Linked DNA regions of Homo sapiens: regions 1, 3, 4, 5, 6 and 7 are each linked to region 2. The links are contacts of gene promoters, found by promoter capture Hi-C in blood cells and fetal thymus (Javierre and others, 2016). All regions are on one chromosome and are shown on one strand. Each heading gives the region's core, a stretch centred on a gene start or on the middle of the fragment in contact. The rest is flanking DNA. Distances are from core to core; before and after follow the strand shown.

The links. Contacts are between HindIII fragments. The CHiCAGO score rates a contact against its expected background, and 5 or more counts as called.
Region 1: a contact is called between a fragment that was not itself captured here and the fragment with the promoter of PTHLH in region 2, in 1 of 17 cell types (M2 macrophages). The highest score is 5.3, in M2 macrophages.
Region 3: a contact is called between a fragment that was not itself captured here and the fragment with the promoter of PTHLH in region 2, in 1 of 17 cell types (M2 macrophages). The highest score is 5.1, in M2 macrophages.
Region 4: a contact is called between a fragment that was not itself captured here and the fragment with the promoter of PTHLH in region 2, in 1 of 17 cell types (M2 macrophages). The highest score is 5.3, in M2 macrophages.
Region 5: a contact is called between a fragment that was not itself captured here and the fragment with the promoter of PTHLH in region 2, in 2 of 17 cell types (M2 macrophages and M0 macrophages). The highest score is 7.7, in M2 macrophages.
Region 6: a fragment that was not itself captured here is called in contact with the fragment with the promoter of PTHLH in region 2 in 3 of 17 cell types (M0 macrophages, M2 macrophages and M1 macrophages); the score reaches 9.3 in M0 macrophages.
Region 7: a fragment that was not itself captured here is called in contact with the fragment with the promoter of PTHLH in region 2 in 2 of 17 cell types (M0 macrophages and endothelial precursors); the score reaches 8.5 in M0 macrophages.

What each region holds. Positions count from the first base shown.
Region 1 is chr12:28,925,068-28,928,149 of GRCh38, forward strand. No RefSeq gene overlaps it. Among named protein-coding and RNA genes, the nearest start is that of FAR2, 220 kb to the right of the region's middle. The HindIII fragment of the contact is 8,630 bases long and covers 1-3,082 here.
Region 2 is chr12:27,971,203-27,974,151 of GRCh38, forward strand. It overlaps PTHLH (parathyroid hormone like hormone), which reads right to left and starts at 1,531. Exons shown (of 6, transcript NM_198965.2): 1 at 1,321-1,531; 2 at 725-817. The HindIII fragment of the contact is 3,977 bases long and covers 1,451-2,949 here.
Region 3 is chr12:28,805,100-28,807,908 of GRCh38, forward strand. No RefSeq gene overlaps it. Among named protein-coding and RNA genes, the nearest start is that of FAR2, 340 kb to the right of the region's middle. The HindIII fragment of the contact is 1,838 bases long and covers 353-2,190 here.
Region 4 is chr12:28,748,531-28,751,562 of GRCh38, forward strand. The region is part of intron 2 of LOC105369711 (a long non-coding RNA gene); the gene reads right to left. Among named protein-coding and RNA genes, the nearest start is that of FAR2, 400 kb to the right of the region's middle. The HindIII fragment of the contact is 271 bases long and covers 1,307-1,577 here.
Region 5 is chr12:28,831,914-28,834,837 of GRCh38, forward strand. No RefSeq gene overlaps it. Among named protein-coding and RNA genes, the nearest start is that of FAR2, 320 kb to the right of the region's middle. The HindIII fragment of the contact is 2,196 bases long and covers 400-2,595 here.
Region 6 is chr12:28,852,495-28,855,641 of GRCh38, forward strand. No RefSeq gene overlaps it. Among named protein-coding and RNA genes, the nearest start is that of FAR2, 300 kb to the right of the region's middle. The HindIII fragment of the contact is 1,878 bases long and covers 678-2,555 here.
Region 7 is chr12:28,964,871-28,968,113 of GRCh38, forward strand. No RefSeq gene overlaps it. Among named protein-coding and RNA genes, the nearest start is that of FAR2, 180 kb to the right of the region's middle. The HindIII fragment of the contact is 251 bases long and covers 1,343-1,593 here.

The DNA.
Region 1 (3,082 bases), core at 293-2,792, 950 kb after region 2:
TGTGCCCCATATTGAGAATTTATTATGTATTTCAAGCAAATTCTCTGTGTAAGAAAAGGAAAAAGGAACTAGGAAAAGAAAACTTCAGCAACTTTAATACTATTCATACCAGTAAAGAAACACAATTCATTAGAAAAAAATAATCTATACACATAAGGTAAAGCCTTTGCAAAGACTCCAAGTTCACAAATTTCCTAAGAATCAGCTGTGTGGGGCCACTTGATCACAAGAGAAGTATGTGAGAATGAAAATGATGACTTGAAAGGAATTCCAAAATCCTTTGCATCAAAGACATATAATGCGAATGGAAGGATGATGGCCAGAAGTTGTGTTGGGTTGAGTAAAGCACTGTATTTATTATATCATTATGTCATTTAGTCTTCACACCAAGCCTGTGGGACAAACAACACTTTGTGGGACATTTTCAGTGAGGGAAGAATTAGCAGTGACCTCCCACCCTCAGAAACTCTGACTAGTGCCATGGGAGTGTTCTTGGCTTGCTTGGAGAAGGTAAAGACAAGGTAATCCAAGGCTGCTCTTAGCCCACAGGCATTGCAGTTAGCAGTAATTACCTGGAAAATCAGCAGAATGATAGAGTTTAAAGAAGCCTCCACAAGTGACAAAGTTTTTCCTTGAGAATTTCTCAAGCACTGGAAAAAGGTAGCTTATTATATGTAAACATTGCTAAGGGTGTTTTTGTGTGAGAGTGAAGAGTGACATGTTTTGGTGGTAGGGGCAGGAAGGGAACATTTAGGGGACTGCAAGACAAGACCCAACAGGAATGAAATGATGAAAGAATGGCCTGTGCTGATGGGCAGACACAGTTGATTGAGAGGAGTCTGGAAACGTTTAAGCAAAGTCATGTAAATAGAACTCCCAAAAAAGTGTTTGGAAATAAAGAGCAAGGCGAGAGCCTCAGAGAAACATCCAGAAATTTCAGGAGGAAATTAGGTTAAACCTCAAAAATAGGAGTGAGAAAAGTGGAAATGCCAGAAGAATAAGATCAGCTTTAGAGAAAAAAAAAAAATCATTGCTCAGTGATGGTGATGACCTTCAAAGTTTCAGAGAGTCTTCTGTCAACAGCTGCTGACCAGATGTCCCAAAGCAAATGGTAAATGATAACATGTAACCCTCCCTCTCCAAGCGCTTCCCAGCCAAGGAACCCAGTCATAACTGTAATTCTCTGCAGAAGGCTCCCCAAACATCAAGTTTCATTGCCTCTAATCCTGCCAGGTTTTCATGGGGGAATTTGTTATTCATCCTCAGTGAAGAGTTTCCTCAAAGATCAACAAACTCTATCCTGGCAAATGTGACCCAGCCTGGGAATAGTGAAGGGAGCCAGGTCTCCCCAGGCTACATGTTATCTGGGTTCCCAAGAGTGGCCTTGGACTTTCTTCCAGAGTTGTGCCAGTGGGTGGCCTCCATGTAACCTCTAGAGAAGAAATGGTTCTTGGTGGAAATAACTATTGTTGGAAATAGATTCCAGTGCAAGTCTCAACACTGGGTCACAATGATGGTGGCCTTTGTTGGCATGGCCTCCCACTGGCAGTGGCAGCACATTTTCCTGACATCACCATTCCCAGGTGATACGGTTTGGCTGTGTCCCCACCCAAATCTCGACTTGAATTGTATCTCCCAGAATTACCCTGTGTTGTGGGAGGGACCCAGGGGGAGGTAATTGAATCATGGGGGCAGTTCTTTCCCATGCTATTCTCATGATAGCGAATAAGTCTCATGAGATCTGATGGGTTTATCAAGGGTTTCTGCTTTTGCTTCTCCCTCATTTTCTCTTGCCACCGTCATGTAAGTAGTGCCTTTTGCCAACCGCCGTGATTCTGAGGCCTCCCCAGCCATGTGGAACTGTAAGTTCAATTAAACCTCTTTTTTCTTCCCAGTCTCAGGTATCGCTTAATCAGCAGTGTGTAGAGGGACACCAGGGCCCACATTATTTTTCTGAGTCTCTTGCTGACAGTTATGTAGAGACAGTTGAACACCATCTTGGACTACTGTCCACAGTCGATGCTGTTGAGCATTTTTGTCGGAATTACTGTACATCAATCTGTAACTGAACGTGCTTAACAGCTTCTATCAATGCAATGAGGGACAAACCTAAGTAACACCACATCCATTGTTTCCCTCACTTAAGGCCATTTAACCCTAGAGCCACTGATTCTGTCTTGGCTGAGGATGCGTGTATGCTCTCACAAGGATGCTTCACTGGGAATAGAGATCCTCACTCCCTTAACTCAGCATCCACACTTGTCCAAAGACTCTGAGCACATATGGAGGAGGCAGCCAGATAGGAATTTTAATCAGCCTATAACCCTTATTAACTGTGTTACTTCTTAGCAAGCTAACTTATTAACAAATTTGGCTCATTCTCAGTTTCTTCACCTAACAAACGTTTTTACTCACAAAGTGTCTCTCGGGATTAAACAAAATGTTACCACTAATTTTACAGCACTTAGTTTTAGTCTCTGGTTATATATTCCTTGTCCTAATAGAAAAACATGAACCCAAACAGACAAGAATTCATTGGTATTTTAATCCACATGTTCCACAAGACTAGATATTTGTGGACAAAGGTGACACTGGGTGAGTGTCACTGGGAGAAGTCCTCTCTTCTTGGTATTGGGTAATGGGCAGCTGCAACAAGGAGATGGCTGGGATGCAACAGAAACAGGCCTCAGGTGAGGAGCCCACAGTCTTGATCACTCCCACTTGGCCATATGATCTGAGTGGGAGCCAAGGAAGCCAGGTCTGAGCCTTGACTTCATGCAGGTTTTAAATCCCAAGTGAAGCCACTCAGGAGAAGAGGCAGCCTTTGGAAATGAGACGAAGGAGTTCAGGTTACAAGGCCTGCAGGTGAGAGAGGAAGAGAACACCCCATTGTCACACGGGCATTCAGAGAGAATAATGACTGCAGTAGTGTCTCCTTTCTAATTTTTAACAGCACCAATCTCTTCAGAATCCATCCTTTTTATTAACGGAAGGGCTCCTCAGTGAGAGCTGTCTTCACTGAGGTAGCTAAGACATGCCTCAGTGTGTCTGGTGACTTGGTGGCCAGGCCTGCCAGAATTTG
Region 2 (2,949 bases), core at 281-2,780:
CTGCAGCCAGCGGACAGATGCAGTGGAACTATGGTTATGTGCTGCTCTGCCTGGGAGAAGCGACGGGAAAGCCGAGGTTCTTTCCAAAGCTAATGGGCGGGGAAGAAAGACTGCTCGGAATTACTGGGTAGTATCATCTAGGAAAGGATTGCAGCGGGAGTGGATACCCTCCCCAGGGCTCCTCTAACTTTTTGAAAAGAGCGCGAGTGGACTGGGAACCATTCAAGGGATATTTGTCTTCTAGGCAATCCTGCTGGTAGGGTTCATTAGTTTCTAGAAGGCTAGTGTGATTTAGATTCTTGAGATGATTCAAGGAATGTGGCCTTTATCAAGCCCGACTTTCCGGGTGATGCTCCACATATTTTACCCAGGGTGGGAGAAATAGCACGCTGTCACCGAGACCCTCGCTCATCGGGGCTCCCACTGGTTCACTGCAGCTAGCTAGCAGTTAAAGTTTACTGCTTAGGTTGGGTGGGGGGGCATATTTTCTTAGAAGCTCCTGCCTTCCTCAGTTCATTACTGTAAACCCCGTACCTTAAAAGACTCGGCTTCTTCTCACTAACAAAGAAAAAAAGCAAAACAAAACCAAAACACACACACGCACACACACACACTCTCTCTCTGGGAATTTCCACAACTTCCCTTGAATGTGTAAGGATTTCTAAATGTTAGACTTGTTTGGATAGTATGAAAGGACAAAGTATCAGCACTCAGAAATGTCAACCTTTGAACCTCGAACACTTTCTGATTTATAAAAAGAATCCTTCCAAAAAGATGCAGGAGCCCTAATGTAATCGTTAGATCTGAAGGGGGAAATCTGTAAAAAAAAAAAAAAAAAAAAAAAAAAAGTCAATCACAAATGAGCCATTTAATACTTGCAAGTTGTTTAACATTGAAATGATAATATTTGCTTCCACAATAAAAAGTCCAAGGTACCTAGCCAAGTTTCAAACTATCCAGGCTTTAAAAAGTCAACCCTTCTCCCAATAGAAGGTTAAAACAAAAATCAGATTGAAATTATCAAATCACTTATGTTGTAAATAAATTCACTTTACTTTCAGAACATTATAAATTAAGGACTGGCATCAATAGACTGCTTTGATTTATGTTGCTTTTTCTACTAATTAAACAAAATTAACCCCCCACTCCTTCCCTCCTTTCTTTTTCCCCACACACTTTTCTGGTGTTAATGGCAAAACATCTATCAAATATTTTTAGAATTTCCTCTCCTCCACAAAAAGAGAAAATATAGACACAGGAAAAATAAATAGTCTTTATATACTCGGAATACCAAAGTTCCCTCCTAATTTATTACTTCACCTTTTCCTTGATTTACAATCTTCTCTCTGCTCTTCTGGCTGAAAGAGGGAAATCTTCTCAGCAGTCTTTTCCAGAAATATTTTTTGTTGTTCTTCAGAAAACATAAAATTAAATCTTAAAATGAATTAAAAGCTTCTTGAAAGGAGACTTCTGTTCCCACTAAAGGCAATTATTAGAAAGCAGGTACCTCTTCCAAGCTGCCCTGTTTATTACTTTCCGTAGAAATTCTCCTCAATATATACCCAGGACCCTGACTTTTTGCCTGTTTTGGAAAGGATATTTTCTGACATCATAATCTAGTTCCTAACATAACTGAGTAATCTCCATCATAATAATGCAGAGGATGCATGACTGCAAATGAGACACAGCAAGAGCACCCCCTACCACCTCCCTCCCCCCCCCGTCCCCCCAGCCCACACACACACCTTTTTTCTAAGGTTTAGAAATAGAACAAGTGCCAATAGAAGCTAAATGTTTGCTTAGGCCTTGCTGTCATGTAAATGCACCTTAGCAAATGGGAAGGCCTGCCTCTAATCTGAAGTATTTCCATGTTTAGCATTATAAGATCTACACCTACACAAATGCCTAGCCCATGAGCACCAGGCTTCCATCTTCCCATCCCCAGTGGCAGTTTATTACAGTATATCAAATTTTAAAAGAGGTTGAAAAAATTTTAAATGCATTACTCTTAAATTCAGTTGAATACCCAGTTAATGTATATCTCCTGTCATAGCTTAGAAAAAAGTAAATAGCATTTATGCTTAGCCTCTTCATCCTTCTTTCTTCTTTCCTCCTTAACCCAAACAGCAAACAGATATACATTATAAACCAAATATGAATCTATAGCACTTTAAACAGTGCACCTGGGCTTGGGAATTCTCTTATTACCAATAAGCATCCAGATTTCACATTTACCAATCTGTAGCTGCAAGCTATGTCTCTAAAATCCCCTGGAACCAAACAACTAAACTCATCCCATCTCTTCTCCAAACTTTTTTCAATGTTTACAAAGAGACGTTGCATAATCAGCTCAAGTAATGCTCTCATTGGATTCCATTAGAATGTGGCTCTCATCGCTCGCCTGGACTGAGACTTGAGAGGAGGCTGTTGCCAGCTGACCTCAAGGTAGCAAAAAAGAAAAAAAGATGTAATGCCTTCAAACCCCAAGTAACAATAGGAAAGGGTGTGTTTCTTTATTAAATCTTTTTGTAGTTAGGTGAGGATAAGACTTCTCCAGGAACAGGGCGGGCTGCTAACCTCTGGAGGAACTGCCTCAGGGAGGAGTGTATAGATATGCATCAAGCTGATGGGATCCTCCCATGGGAAAAGTGGGCCTCACACCCTTCCTCACCCTTCCCTACTTCCTGGGCAATGTTCTGCTTCCCCCAAACTGAAGCAGGAGGCCCAGAGAGGAGGCGGTTTCCTGGGAGGAACCCAAACCAATGTGAGATGAGAAGGTCTTTAGGAAATGGGGGTCTCTGAGAACCGGTTCTTAAAGGTCAAGCACTTGAGCACCTCGCAAACTCCTGACAATTGAAACATATCTGAAGAGTCTTCTTCAGATATGTCTCTGTGTGTGTGTGTGTGTGTGTGTGTGTGTGTGTGTGAGAGAGAGAGAGAGAGAGAGAG
Region 3 (2,809 bases), core at 22-2,521, 830 kb after region 2:
ATATCTTACCAAGGTTAGAAAAACAGCTCTTTTATATTTGTTACAGGTCTGATAAAATAGTAAAACATGAAGTTTTTTTCAACCCTTGTTGCCAAATTGTTGGAGTATCTATGACGTTTTACACAACTTTTAAATTTTTTGTTTAAGCACAATAAAATTCCCAGTGAAACTGGAAATGCGCAATGTGTAGTTTTCATGTGGTATCTGGGCTTAATGGCAAGATATGCAATTTTGGTTTCCTTTGCCGCAACATCTCTTGTAATAAAACTGTATTTTAAGAGAAATTTCTTTATCGAATCTTTGAGATCAAAAGAGCTGAAAGTGAACTATATTCATTGGTTATTATATGCAAAGCTTCCTAGATAGATGTCAGGAACAGGGAGCAAATTTATCACCTTACTAATTTGGATGCAAGTATTATCTGAGGTCAGTCACATTTCTTTTTAAAATAATATTTCTCATTCACAGCCTCATTTAAAGTAGATTTAAATTGACCTTAGCACTTATTTTATCATTAATTTTCAAATCTTTATCAAAACTTTATCATTATTTGATAATTATTAATTATCAAAACTTTATCATTAATTTCAAATATACCTCAAACAATTGTGAATCACCGGCAAAAATTTGCATTCATTAATACCTAGAAATAAATGTTCCTTCATCTTTTTTGCCATCTCATTAAGTTTGCATTTTTATAATTGCACAGGCATTTACTTTGACATGGTATTTGAGACTCATCGCTTCTTTTTGGGCGGTGGAGGAACATCACTAAAATGCATATTCAAAAATTGTATTTTGCTTATATATCTGTGTTTGGTGAATAGTAATACTATTTCTGGATTTCAGCTTTAGAGGCATACATAATGTCAGGATAGAGATGGCATAATAAATGATACTTCTGTATTTTCCCCTGGAGTTCTAAACTGGTTGTGAAATGAAAAATAAATCAGATAGGAATCATGTATCACATTTATCATACATAAAGCTGATATTGGAATGTTGGGCTTTTATTTATAAGCAAGTGGACTCATTACTGAACTCCAAAATTAGGCAAAATTAGTCACCTAGACACTGGCAATACTGGAAAATCACAGCTCCCTCCTCCCAGTTTGGAGAAAATGAACCCAAGTTTCCTACAGGCAGCTAGTTCCCAAAGGGATAAGATACATCCAAGTCTAGGCAGTGATTTACAAAATGTGGTTCTAGCATTATCATCATCATCATCATCCGAGAACTTATAAGAAATTCAAGTTATCACGACCCATCCAAGACCTACTGAATCAGAAACTGGGGGTAGGGCCCAGCAAATCTATTTTCACAAACCCTCCAGGTATTTCTGAGGCAAACTAAAGATTGAAGATGATCAGTTTGCACCAGTTTCTTCTTTCAAACTGACCAGTTATACTGAGTTATAGGGAATATTTTTACATGATATTGATGACAGGGAAGTATCAGTGGGAGTGAGGAAGAAGTGTTTGGTCTCTAAAACTAATTTAGAATTATAATTTTTTTTAACTTTATTTGCTGTTTTATTTTAGTATGGTAATATTATTGGAAATTCCAGATCACTTCAATAGTTTATGGGCACAATAGAAAATAATAGATGACACTGGATTGTTGTAGAAAATGGTGTAAATAGTTGGCCTAAATATGGAAGATGGATTAAGCCTTCATAATTATGCTTTATTTAGGAATCCATGTTTACATCGTTTTGCCTTATTTTCTTTTTCTTTTCTTTTCTCTTTTTTTTTTTTTTTTTTTTTTTTTTTTTTTGAGATGGAGTCGCGGCTGCGGCCCGGGCTGGAGTGCAATGGTGCAATCTTGGCTCACTGCAAGCTCTGCCTCCGGGGTTCATGCTGCCATTCTCCTGCCTCAGCCTCCCTTGCATTATTCTCTATAATTGACATTCAGGGCTTCTCAAGTTAATATCCAGGATCCAGAGCACATTCCCCAAAGCTACAGAAATCATACCTCACAAGACTTATGCTAATATGTGAAATAAGGCGATACAGAAAAGCTGGGTTTAATTAAACACAGTCTCCTTCAATTAGTGACTGTATGTATTATCTTATGTAAATTACTGAACCTCTCAGGCTTACTATAAAAAAGAAACAAAAACTTGGTGTTCTTTTATCTTACAGAACATGTGAATTATATAATGCACCCTTTTTAAAAAATGCACTAGGAAGCTTAGAGAAAAATTGGGAGCCTGTGTATGGTAAATTCATCTGTTAGCAATAGCTTAAACATACCCTAAGAATGACCCCCTATGGCAGATGCACCCGAATGTAAGCAGTTTGCAAGCAGTTGCTTTTCTGCCCAGCCTGCCACCACTAGGCCATATGGTTCTCCTGCCCAGCCCACTGTCCCTGGACTCTCTCCCCTGTATATAAACCCCCAATAAAACTCGTGTCTTTTTTTTTTTTCTGGCCCTGGAACTCTTCTTAGGCATCTTAATTAAACCTGGTGACATTCCCACTGGAGTCAATAGGGATTGGCATAACTGCCAGTTTGCAACGTTTATATGTTATCATAAAGCATTTAATTCCTTGTATTAACATTCTGCTTTTATTACAGTTTTGCCCTGATCTCTTTTTCTATTTATTTTACAGATTTACAGCCCACATTTATTGTGTGCTCACTGTGTAACGTGTTCTGTGTTAAGTGCTTGATACTCATGCATTTGCAAAAACTCTCTGAGGTGGGTAATTATTTTACAGAATACCATTTTATAAGCATCCTTAAATGCTTTTGATTGTAGCAGTAAGTAAATAGATGAATACACAAGTTAATCTCTAACGCTCAT
Region 4 (3,032 bases), core at 192-2,691, 780 kb after region 2:
GCCATCTAAAACTTTCTGCAGTATTTCTGATTCCCAAGGTATTTGCACTACTTCTGTGTCAACATAAACTTCAAGTGAAGGTATCACATACATGTACTGACTTTCTTTAATGGTTTTTGGGCCTTTGTTTTAATGAGGATTTCAATCAGCTTTCCGTCTACCTTTTTAGTGCAGGTTAGATCTCTGGTGTGTATAGTAGTGGCCATCATTTCTTGTTATTTGTTTCATATAAAGTCCTCTAGTTTTCTGTGGGTAAAAAACTGCAATACAAATCTCTAAGATTCACAGTGTAATTAGCACATGTGGATCAAAGTGGCACAAGTCACCCAATTTCTGGATCATTCCTGCCTCAGCTTAGGATGAAAGTCAATACTACAAATTCCAAGGTGAAAATCTTCTAATGGCTTATAGATCTGGCTGAAATACAGCAAAGGGCATTAGGCCATTCAACTCATTAATGTGTGGATTGGTAAACTTTTCTGTAAAGTGCCAGATGTTAAGTATTTTACGCTTGTGGACCATACGGTCTCTATTGCAACCACTCCACTCTGCCACTGTAGCGTGAAAATAGTCTTAGACAACATACATAGTGAATCTTAGCTGTGTTAAAGTGAATTAAAATGGAGTCTAGGCCTGAAGAATCGCTGTGGGGACAAACCCAGTGAAGCCTCATAAGTGACCTTAGCTTTGCTTGATTTGCAAACAGAAGTGAAATGTAATTTGAGCTGTTTTTCTTGTAGTGCCTATATTAAGGAAAAACAGAACTTAAGCTCAATCAATCAGAAGCAGCCAACAAACTTATAATTCTACAACTAGGGACTTTCTAGTGGGACAGACCAGGTAAGGCAACTTTATAACTGTAATGAAATATTTCCTTTGTGTGATTTCAACATTCATTCTATGAAAACCTGTCACTCAGTCTTCTTCAATGGAGCCCCTAGACCATTTCTGGTTTGAAGCTGCCCAATTCATAAATCACCATTTGCTCAAATAAACTCTTTAAATTTTTATTGTGCCTCAGTTTATGTTTTAACAGCTGTGTTTCAGTAAAACTTTAATTTTTCACTAAAACACGCAGCAGGCCATAATAGGCCATGGGTCGTGGTTTGCTGACCCCTGCACTCATGCCTGGACAGCTGGGGCACAGAAGCTGTCCTAAAGTGCAACTTCAAAAGAATTAAAGGAAGCAGGCAAGGTCAAAGATGTACATGACCTCTATTAAAGCCCAAAGCTCAAAACATGCTTCATGTAACCAAATATTTTATTTGTATGATTTTAACATTCATTACAATCTACCATGATTGGAAGCTTCCTGGGGCTTCATCAAATACCTCTAAGCATAGTTTTGTTTTGTTTCCATCTGCAAATTTCATTCCCTGTCTCTTTCTCTCAAAATTAATGGCACTAGATATTGGGATCATGAGGCAAGGAGGACCAATAATAACAGCACTTTTTCCTATCCAAGGTCTGAACCATTTGAGACATAATAAAAAAGTTGGCCTGTAGAAACCAATATTTTGCTTTTTTTACTATGGAAAGCTAGATCGAAGGCCATGGCTTATAACTGCTGACAAGTAAGCTTCTCCCTATTAAGCATCAAATTTAGGCTTTCTCATCAACCGAAAACTTATGCTCCCTACAGGCAGTTTGCATTCAAGTAAGAGAAAAAAGACCAGGGTTCTGCTTACTTTTCCTATTCCTATTTACCATCCAGGTAAGTGATTCCATCTAGCCTGGGCAGGAGTGATGGATGGAGCCCAGAGAGTCCAATTAGGGTGTCTTCCAGAGAAGAAGGAGGAAGTATTCTCTTCAAACAATGTCAGCTGAAACCTTCAACAATGAGGTTGAAAGGATCATTTTGTGTCTAGTTGAATGAAGCAACTGAAGATACCATAACAGATGGAGGAAGCCAGTGGGAATTTTAGGCTGAATGACATCCACAGACCTATTTAAAATCTCTGTATTTTAAAGAGTTATTCTGCTCCATTGCTCCCCAGAGGATGCGGGAAAGTCAAGAACATTCTGAAAGCTATGATTTGATGAGGTTCCAGGTTTCTTATCTTTAAAGTTATTTATTTTGCAGTAGCCCAACCCTTGAGAGAAACTCATGGTCCTGCAGTATGATTGACAACTCTTTTTTTTTCTCCCTCTACCAGCACCTACTACACTGATGATTAAATAAAAATCTTCAAAAAATATTGTTTAAATAAGTGAATGAATGCAACCCTTCTAAGGTCTTGATTTCCTACCTTCACCATCTTGTTTCAATAGTTAACAATACGTTCCTTCTAAATGATATCTGTCAGACTACTCTTAAAGGATCCCACTCTTCAGTTCATAGACATTTAGATTCATCTTACTATCTTACTTTTCTTGATTAGTTGCTCTTGAGGAAAAAAGAAGGCAAAGTAACATAAGTATCCAATGCATAGCATATAGCCAGAGGTGATGATGTAACTGAAAACTGACAATAATTCTTGTAATAAAGAGGCATCTGCTAATCTGTTGCTAATTTTTATTTGAAAATTGTTGTTGTTGCTTAGGCCTTAACAAGGTCAGGAAAATACAGAAGCTCCTTTAAAAAGGGAAAATGAAACAAAAAAGTAAGTTTCATATTTTCCTTGGTCTCTTGCTTAAGAAGGTTACTGTAGGAAATGTAAATAGACCACAGGAAGCTTTAGAAACTCAGCTCTTTGATTGAAAAAATGGAAATTCTGTTTTTTACAGAAATAAAGTAATTCAATGAAAATACAAAATACAGTTGGTTATCATTTAAAAAGGGTTTGTTTTTTGGATTATGGTTTCTTTGATATAGTACAACTCTGGCACAGACCATTCCAAGTGTATTTCTGAAAGCAAAATAAATGAAAACTGTTTTCTCTCTTCATTAATGTTTTGCTGTGTTCTATTTGTGGAATTCCAAGAGGAGCATGCAGTTTTCCTGGATCGCTTTCAGAGAGGGAAGGATGAATGGGATGAGGGAGTTGACCCCCAAAGAAAAGAATGAGTCAACATGAAGAAATAATGCTTCT
Region 5 (2,924 bases), core at 248-2,747, 860 kb after region 2:
AGATAATAACCCAAGAATGGACATAAAATGAAATAGTAATAATTCATCAATAAATCCAAAAGACAAAAGGAAAAGAGGGGAAAAGAAACAAAGAACAGACGAAGACAAGTAGATTCCAAGGTCAGGCATTGTAAGACTGAATAAAAAAGCAAGACCCTTATGTTGGAAATAAGAAATTTACTTTAGATATAAAGATGAAAGCAACTTAAAAGGGAAGTGGAAAAATGCATAATATGAAACACTATAAGAAAGCTGGAATGATCTCATTAACATCAGAAAAGTTACTGTTCAGAACAAGGAATATTAGCAGGAATGTTATCAGAATATTACATTTTGCCATGATAAATATTTCAATTCAGAAGACACAATAGGGTTAACTATGCATACACTCAATTATAAAGCTTTCATATAGAAGCAAAAATTGACGGAACTGAAAAGGGAAACAGACACATTTATAATTATCCATAGTTAAGTTGGAGACTTAAACATTCTCCTCTTAGGAACCAGTAGAACAAGCAGGCAGAAAATCAGAAAAATGTAGAAGCATTGAATAACATTATTAACCATATTTACTCAATTGATATTTCTAAAACATTGCATGAAACAACTGCCAAATATACATCCTTTTAAAGTGCATATGAGGCTGGGCATGGTGGCTCACACCTGTAATCCCAGAGGCCGAGGTGGGCAGGAGTTTGAGATCAGCCTGGCCAACATGGTGAAACCCCTTCTCTACTAAAAATACAACAGAAAAATCAGCCGGACATGGTGGTACATGCTTGTAATCCTAGCTATAATCCTAGCTACTCGAGAGGCTGAGGCAGGAGGATCGCTTAAACCTGGGAGGTAGAGGTTCCAGTGAGCTGAGATTGCGACACTGCACTCCAGCCTGGGTGACAGAGTAAGACTCCGTCTCAAAAAAAAAAAAGAAAAAAAAAAAAAGAAAAAAAATGCGCATGGAGTTAAAAGGATTGAAATCAGAAATAGTTTGTTTTTGCACCGCTGTGGAATTAGATTAGACATAAACAACAGAACAATACCCAGAATAACCTCAGCATTTTGAATTTTAAGCACTTCTCTAGTAAGTACCCATGGTTAAAAAAGGAAAAAAAAAAAACAAAAAACAGCACAGGAAAATTAGAAAATGTTTTGAACTGAATGAAAATGAGCCCCTGTTACACCTCTGCCACCTCTGGTGCAAACATGTGCATGGACGCCAGCAAATCTGCCCTTCCCAGTGCCTCACCCCTGCTGCACAGTCACCACCACTGGCGGGAGCTTACAGAGAAATGTCACCACCCCACTCCCACCAGTGGCCATCTCAAGCCAATGTGCATGCACTTCATCACACTGCTGTGGCTGCTGGCATGTGCAAGCAAGCATGTATCCCACTGCCACTGCCCTGATGAAGTACTTTGCCTGACACCCCCCCATCAGAGTGTTGTGACCTACAGACTGAGAACACCTCGGCCCCTCCAACACTACAGATTCCTAACCTCAAGGGGCCAGAGAACAAAGCAAGGGGCTTGGTCCCAGACCTTCAGAGCCAAAGCACACATTCCAGGACTGCCAAGCTGAGCCATGGTCCCCTAAAATCTTCTAGAAGCAAAGCCAGCTGACTGAACCCACCTTATACCACAATCAAATACCCAAGGGCATCAAAGAAGATAAAAGCAAAAAACCCCACCCAAAGGACAGCAACTGCTAAGATTGAACAAACATCAGCTCACACAAATGAGAAAGAGCCAGCACAAGAATTGTGGCAACTTAAAAAGCTGGATTGTCTTCCTACCTCCAAATGGCCACACTAGTTCACCAGCAGTGGTTCTTAATCAGGCTGAAGTTGCTGAAGTGACTGAAATGACAGGCACAGAATTCGGAATATAGATAGGAATGAAGATCATTGAGATTCAGGAGAAAGTTGAAACCCAATCTAAGGAAAACAATAAAATGATACAGGAGAGGAAAGATGAAATGGCCGTTATAAGAAAGAACCAAACTAATTTAACAGAGCTGAAAATCTCACTTCAAGAACTTACAATACAATCACAAGTATTAACAGCAGAATAAACCAAACTGAAGAAAGAATCTCAAAGCTCACAGACAGGTTCTCCAAAATAACTCAGACAGACAAACATAAAGAAAAAGAATAAAAATGAATGAACAAAACCTTTGGGAAATATAGGATTACGAAAAGAGACAAATTCTATAACTCATTTGCATTCCTGAAAGAGAGAGAGAGAAAGAAAGAAAACAACTTGGAAAAAATATTTGAGGACATGGTCCGTGAAAATTTATTGAACCTTGCTTGAGAGGCTAATATTCAAATTCAGGAAATGCAAAGAACCTTGTGAGATACTATACAAGACAATCATCCCCAGGACACATAGTCGTCAGGTTCTCCAAGGTCAAAATGAAGTAAAACATGTTAAAGACAGCTAGAGAGAAGGGGCAGCTCACCTACAAAGGGAAGGTCAACAGGTAACAGCAGACCTTTCAGCAGAAACCCTGCAAGCCAGAAGAGATTAGGGGCCTATATGAAGAATTCTTAATGAAAAGAAATTCCAACCAAGAATTTCATATCCAAGCAAGCTAAGCTTCATAAGTGAAGAAGAAATAAGATTTTTTTTTCAGACAAGCATATGTAAGGGAATTTATTACCACCAGACATGCCTTAGAAGAAGTCCTTAAGGGAGTGCTAAATATGAAAGGAATGACTGTTACTGGCCTCACAAAAACACACTTTAGTACATAGACCATTGACACTATAAAGTAACTACAAATCAAGTCTGCATAATAATCAGCTAACAACATGATGACAAGATCAAAACCCACATATAAATATGAACTTTTTTTATTCATCATATTTACTTTATTATTCTTTTGATGTAGACAAGGTCTATATTGATATTGTCTGTGTCTTC
Region 6 (3,147 bases), core at 367-2,866, 880 kb after region 2:
TTAGGAGACAATATGAACTCCCATGAATTCCATGGTAAAATAAAAGGTGTAGGGCAGGTGCCTCCTTTAGCCACTGTTCTACTCATCTACTACCTTTCACAGCTACACTTGTTTCCGGAGAACTTTGCACTGACAATCTCTACTTTCTTCCTTCCCAACTTCCAGGAAGAACACCAAAATCTTCTAACTGTTCAATCCAAATAGGCACTTTGCAGTCTACATCTGACTGGTCTTTCCTGATGCATTCCACACTCTTGACAACTCCTTCCTTCTGGAAACTCTTCATATGTCGAGGATAGAGTATATTGTCTCTCCTTTCTCCTCCACCAACCCTAAAATCTCCTAAACAGATCTTCCTCCTGTATTTCCTATTTTAGTAAAGAACATTACCATCTATCCAATTAGTCAAGCCAGAAATGGCGGCTGATAGAAGATTTGAGGGTGGGGATCAATCACTAGTTCTTCCTTTTATTCACCTTTATGCCTAATCAGTCACAAAATCTTGCAGAATTTCTTTTATAACATCATATGCATCCCTTCTTCTGATTCTCAATACTATTATCCTGGCTCAAGGCCTTATCATATGTCACCTATACTATTGGAGAATCTATTGTTAAGCAGGTTCCTGGCTTTGAATGCACTTTCTGTCAATCTATCCTGCAGAAAAATTGTAACCAAGCTTCTTCCCCATTTAAAACACTTCATTGGCTCTACTCTCCTGTAGGAAAAACAAAGTTCTTAGCATGACACACAAGGCCTTTCACACCCTGGATGTTTATGTCTTCACTTTCACCTGCACACTAGTCATTCTCAACAGCCTGTGGTTCTGGGAGAGCATGAGAGTTATTCCATACCTTCATGTTTTTGTTCATCCTGGCCCAAACTCACTTATCTTTCTATAACCATGAATCCCCTCTTTATATACTAATCCACTTTGTCCACACATTTATTACCAAGCTGTTCGAGTTTTACAAAGGCAAGGATTAAGAAACAAATAAACAAAAAACTAGCAAGGCATATTTGAATATGAAATATTTGAAAAAGAATAATAGTTTCATTTGGTTGAACTGAGGGCTTTGGTAGTCCTCAGGTATGGAAGATGAAATGAGTAGTCATTTACAAATTTCGACTGGGGAAGGTACTTGATCAGATTTACATTTTTGAACCTTATTCCATTTGTATGTAAAAAGTACTTTAAAAGTCCATAATTATTAGGGCCTGTATGAGGGCAGGCAATGTACTAATAAAAGGAAAAGGAATTCTTCAAGAGATATTTATACAGTGGGATTAACAAGCCCGAGAGATTGATTAAATGAAGTGGAAAATTTATCCATTGATTCAATTACTGAGTATTAGGCATTGTTGTACTTTCTAGATATGCCAAAAAATTATAAGAGAATTTGCCTGCTTTTATAGAAACTCATTATAATGCAATACAATTTTCAGAAGTAGAATCAAATATAGAAAGAAATTTAGTACATGATAAAGATTGGATTCTTTAATATGTAGTTTTAGAACAACTGGATAATTGTTTGGGAAAAACATATAAAATTTTATTTTCCCATATACCACTCAACAAATTGAGGTCCAAAGAAATTAAATGGAAGATGTGAAATAACAAAAACAATAGAAGAGTCCTAAGTGAACAGGTATATACACTTACAGCATTCACAATCTTTCTAAACAGAACGCTAAAACAAAAACCACATAAAGAGCAATGAAGTTGAAGAAAATACTGTTTGTCACAAAAATGTAGCAATAGAGAAATAGTTACAACATAAAAGACAGAAAAAGAATTAATATGATACAGAAACTTTTGCTACAATATTACATACATGCTTTTGATTTGGCTTGTTCCAAAGGCTGTCAGGACAAAAACCTGCATCTAATGCCTGAGGATCTATCTGATTAAAAATGTGGGTAAAGGAGAACCATGAGTGTTTACTTGCTTTGTGAGGGTGTTAACTGAGTAGCTAAATAATGGTGACAGCTTTGTACAAAAAGAACTCCAGGAGTTCAAGTACCGGAGGCAGAGACTGGAGTTCCCTATTATATACTTTCTTTTTCAGGGGAAAAAAAGTTACCTGCGCCTAATCAAACATTTCTACTCTGAAGTTTCCCATTGCTATACGTTTGTTTTCAGGAACCAAATAATTTTTATCTATCAACTAAACAATTAATGAGAACCTATTATGTTCTAACTGTCCTTTACATAGTCAATACGGTTATATTCCTCAAAGATGAGTAAGATAATGACCTTGCCCTCAAAAACCTCATGGACAGAGACTTAAAGAAGAAATAATACTTACAATGCAAGTTGTATGTTACTGGCATGAATGTCTGAATTATTCTATGGTCCCAACCTGGCTGTGTTAATTACTTTGTGGAGGACACTGGAGCGAGAAAATGTACTGGCTATAGCACAAGCTCTCCTTTTTGGTGAAATGAGCCTCAGTTTGTGAGGCTGTCGGCATGACACCTTCTAAAATGTCACATTCCCTTTCCATGATGTTTAAGAGGCAAAGGGAGGTGGATTTAAGGGAGGAAGAAAGTGAAGCTTATTAGTTTGAATGAGGTCATTGGAGTCACTCTGTGGGATCCTTACAGAAGTAGAACAGAGCTCATTGCAGACACACGCTAGTTAAAATGACTTCAAAGGAGTCAGGCAACATTTTGGTGAATAAATATATGGAATATTATTGTGTTTTCCTCAAATGTGTTTTTATGTGATAAACCTAGAGACTTTTGAATTTTGACTTGAGCACATTAAACATATCCTATGGCCCAAGGGCTGTAGGCATCTCCACATGCATGTCCCACTGACACTCAAAACTTCATCTACTTAAGCTGGAGCCCATGAAGCTCATCCAAGCCCTGCTGCCTTCTCTTCCTGGTTTGCATTTGCTATGTTTACCACCTCCCAAACACTCCCCACTCATATCTCTCTCATTTTCATAAGAGTTCTGAGCCTCCTTTCTTGGATAGTTCTTCCTCACTCCTCTTCAAAGGTTTCTTGGGAGAGGAAATACAGTATGCATTCCTAATTGCTGTTTAGAGATTTCTGCCCAGCATTTAGCCACAAAGCCAATTAAGGAAGGAGTAGGAGTCTTGACCCCTTTCCTAGATTGATAGATTTTCAGTAGGCTC
Region 7 (3,243 bases), core at 218-2,717, 990 kb after region 2:
CACAGGAGAAAGATGTAGGCTGGGAGGCTAGGCCAGTCTCTCTTTACACGTTTTTCTGCTTGCTTTTATTCTAGCCATGCTGGCAGCTGATTAGATTGTGCCCACCCAGATTAAGGGTAGGCCTGCCTTTCCCAACCCACTGACTCAAATGTTAATCTCCTTCGGTAACACCCTCACAGACACACCCAGTATCAATACATTGTATCCTTCAATCCAATCAAGTTAACACTCAGTATTAACCATCACGTACCCCCTTCCCATTTAGTGAATATTATGAATATACTGAGTGCAATATGATATGCAATTCTCCTAAGCAAAAATTCTAATATGTAACTCTAGCACCCAGAGTGCTGTTAGAAGCATTTTGGATATAGAATCATAGTAAATGAAGTTAAACACAGATTAGCAATCTGAAGAATTAGACCATATTCATATCTCTGCTGCTAAATTGCTGATGACTTGGGCAAATCTGACCACATCCCTGAAATTTAGATTTTTTTTTAAATGGGAAATTGGAATTCTGATTATTAATCTGGGAAGATATGCTTATCGGTGTTTATCCCAATTATGCTTGCTGTCACTTGAGAAGGCTTCCTTCCTTCCTACAAAAATGGAAAGTGGAGTGTTTAGATGGAAGGCAAAAATTATATTCCCAAAGCTGGAGCTACAAGCATAGTCAACTAAGCCCTCACTAACACCAGACAAGAGGAAAAAAAAAACCAAAACACCACCACCCACACTGCCTGAGAAAAGTGACCTGACCCACAGATGCTCTTTTCCATGCCTTGTGACTTGTTGAAAAGTTTGACGTGCTAGATGCTACAATCTAACATGAGTTTTGGCTTAAAGGAAACAAGTGCAAAGAAATTCTCTTCTGTTTTCTTAGAATAATCTATGTATGGAGGCATATATGCAGAAACATATACCCTAGTCCTTAGATTTTCTCTTTAGTGGTTAAAATAAAAGTTGCAGCGGGAAATGACTGCCTTATTAATGAGGCATCAGGGGCAGATAGAGGTGCTGTTTGGCTGACCTTCAATTATCCTAATTGAAAATTCATAGCTTGGTGCCTTCTTTGATTTGTCACCATGGGAGGTATGTCTTCCTCCTTAATGTCACAATGCCACTAAAGAAACTGTACTCTGGGAATAGTCATTTAACATGAGTGGAAACAGAATTTCATTTAAGAAAAATCAAAGAAGTAATTCACAAATGATTCCCACAACTCTTTGGAGAAGCCTTGGCAGCCACAATAAGTTTATCATGTTGTTGATACAGACAACAGTCTAAACCTCCCAGGGGTCTGTGGGAAATGAAGCCCCAGGGGCAGGGGGGAAAATGAAGCTTTCTGGGAGAAATTCCCAGGCAACTTGTGAGTGTGGTTCTAAATAAGACTGGTGGGAATTTCCAAAGTAGACAGCACCTCAGGGGGCTGGGGCAGGGCAGAGGAATAAGAAATCTTTTTCTTCCTGGGTGGAGCCAGGAATGTTTCTTATGAGCAAAATCTAAGGACCCACAAGTTGGACTGGCTTCTTACAGCCAAGTTATAAATGATTAATTCTATCAAGGAAAAGAAACAGGGCCTCCTTGCTAAGCTTTGTAATGGGGTTCATATAAATTTGCGTAAAATACTATGTAGGATTAGTGTAGCCAGCCAGGAATTGAGCTACAGGAGCCAAGAGGAGAATGGGACCTCAGCCAACAGGAAAAGTGGGAGATGAAGTGGATCACGCTTGCCAAGCCAAGGAGGCTGGCCAAACCAGAGCTACAGTAGCATGGAAATGAGAAGTGAGAGTCCCACTCTTGAGGGGTGTTATCGTTATTATTATGCTGTTGTTGTTTTTAAAATAAATTTCCATTGTCTCTCCCCCTCAAATGATACTCTCACTACTTTCAAGTTCAGTAAAATATATCTTCACTAATAATGACAACAAGGAAGTTTGCTTGCTTTATAGGTTCAGTTTGGCCCAGCAAGACTGAGCAGAGACCCAGTGGGCTGGGAGGTGGAGGAGTAGGGAATACAGGTGGGCCCCTCAGCCCTACAAGTGCTGCAAAACAACAGGGAGAGTTGAATGTAGAACACCAAATCCACACCTTTTGCCCCAGAATCCCATATTAGAACCATGTCCAGGGAGTCAAAATAGTTTTTCCTAGGGAGTGGAAAAGTCTTCGCTTTGACTTACTCTTTCCATGACTTCTTCCTTCGTCCACTTTCTCAAAAGTTAGGAATGGAAGCTATGAACAGGTGTATCAAGATAAGCCCTATTATCCTCCTCCACAACTCCATTGTCTACAGTTGGGTTGTTCAGCCATATTGCTATTGGGATAAAAGCATCAGGAATTGGCCAGATTCCTGGGTTATGGTATGGCCCATTGAGTCCTCGCTTGGCATATATATGTGGCTGCAAGAAAGGCTGCCATTGTGGCCTGACTCAGTCAGTCCCTGAGATTACACCAATGTCACCCCCTCCCCATCTTAGCATGATGGTCCTGGGTGGCGACAAAGGCTCCAAGCAGCAGCAGCAGGTGTGTCCCACCCACGGAGGCAGTGTGCCCCTCCCTCATTTTTCTCCACACTCCCGAGATGGAGGTCTGAGCTGAAAGGCCCCCAGCAATCTGTCAACAGCAGCTCCTCCTGGACAGATGAAGGGACAGCCTCCTCCGGCCAAGCCAGTAGGAACTGCCCTGCTCCGTCTCAAGAGGGAATTATTTCTGGCAGTTCTTCCAACACCTTGTGCACAACATACACAGTGTACGAGTGCGAGAGGTGAACCTCAGCCCTCAGCTCCAAGGCCGTTATTCCAATAGGTCTCTTGCCTTGCATCCCGCCCCCATGCAAACACACACACACACACACACACAACTCCTGCACACCCTCAGCAAATTCTGCAGACTCCACTCCACATTCTTTTCACCTCCAGCTGGAGTGAAACTAACAATCTTCTCGTAAACACAAACTAAGAGGTTCTTGTTTTCTGGTAAGGGACAGGGTGAAGTCTGGAATTCTTCCCTAAGCCATCATGGAGGGAGCTCCCCTTTTGGAAAAGACAGCCTTGCCAGCTATGGCTGTCATCATAAATGCTTAGAAATGGATATTTCCAACCAGGATCCCTCTGTCCGAGGCTTTTGTTCATCTAAGCCCGCTTCGGGGAAGCCTACCTTTGATTTGCCAGAGTCAATGAGAATAACTTTTCCTAGTCACGCATACTTTCTGGTGATCTGGGGCATAGAAAACCTGTGAGT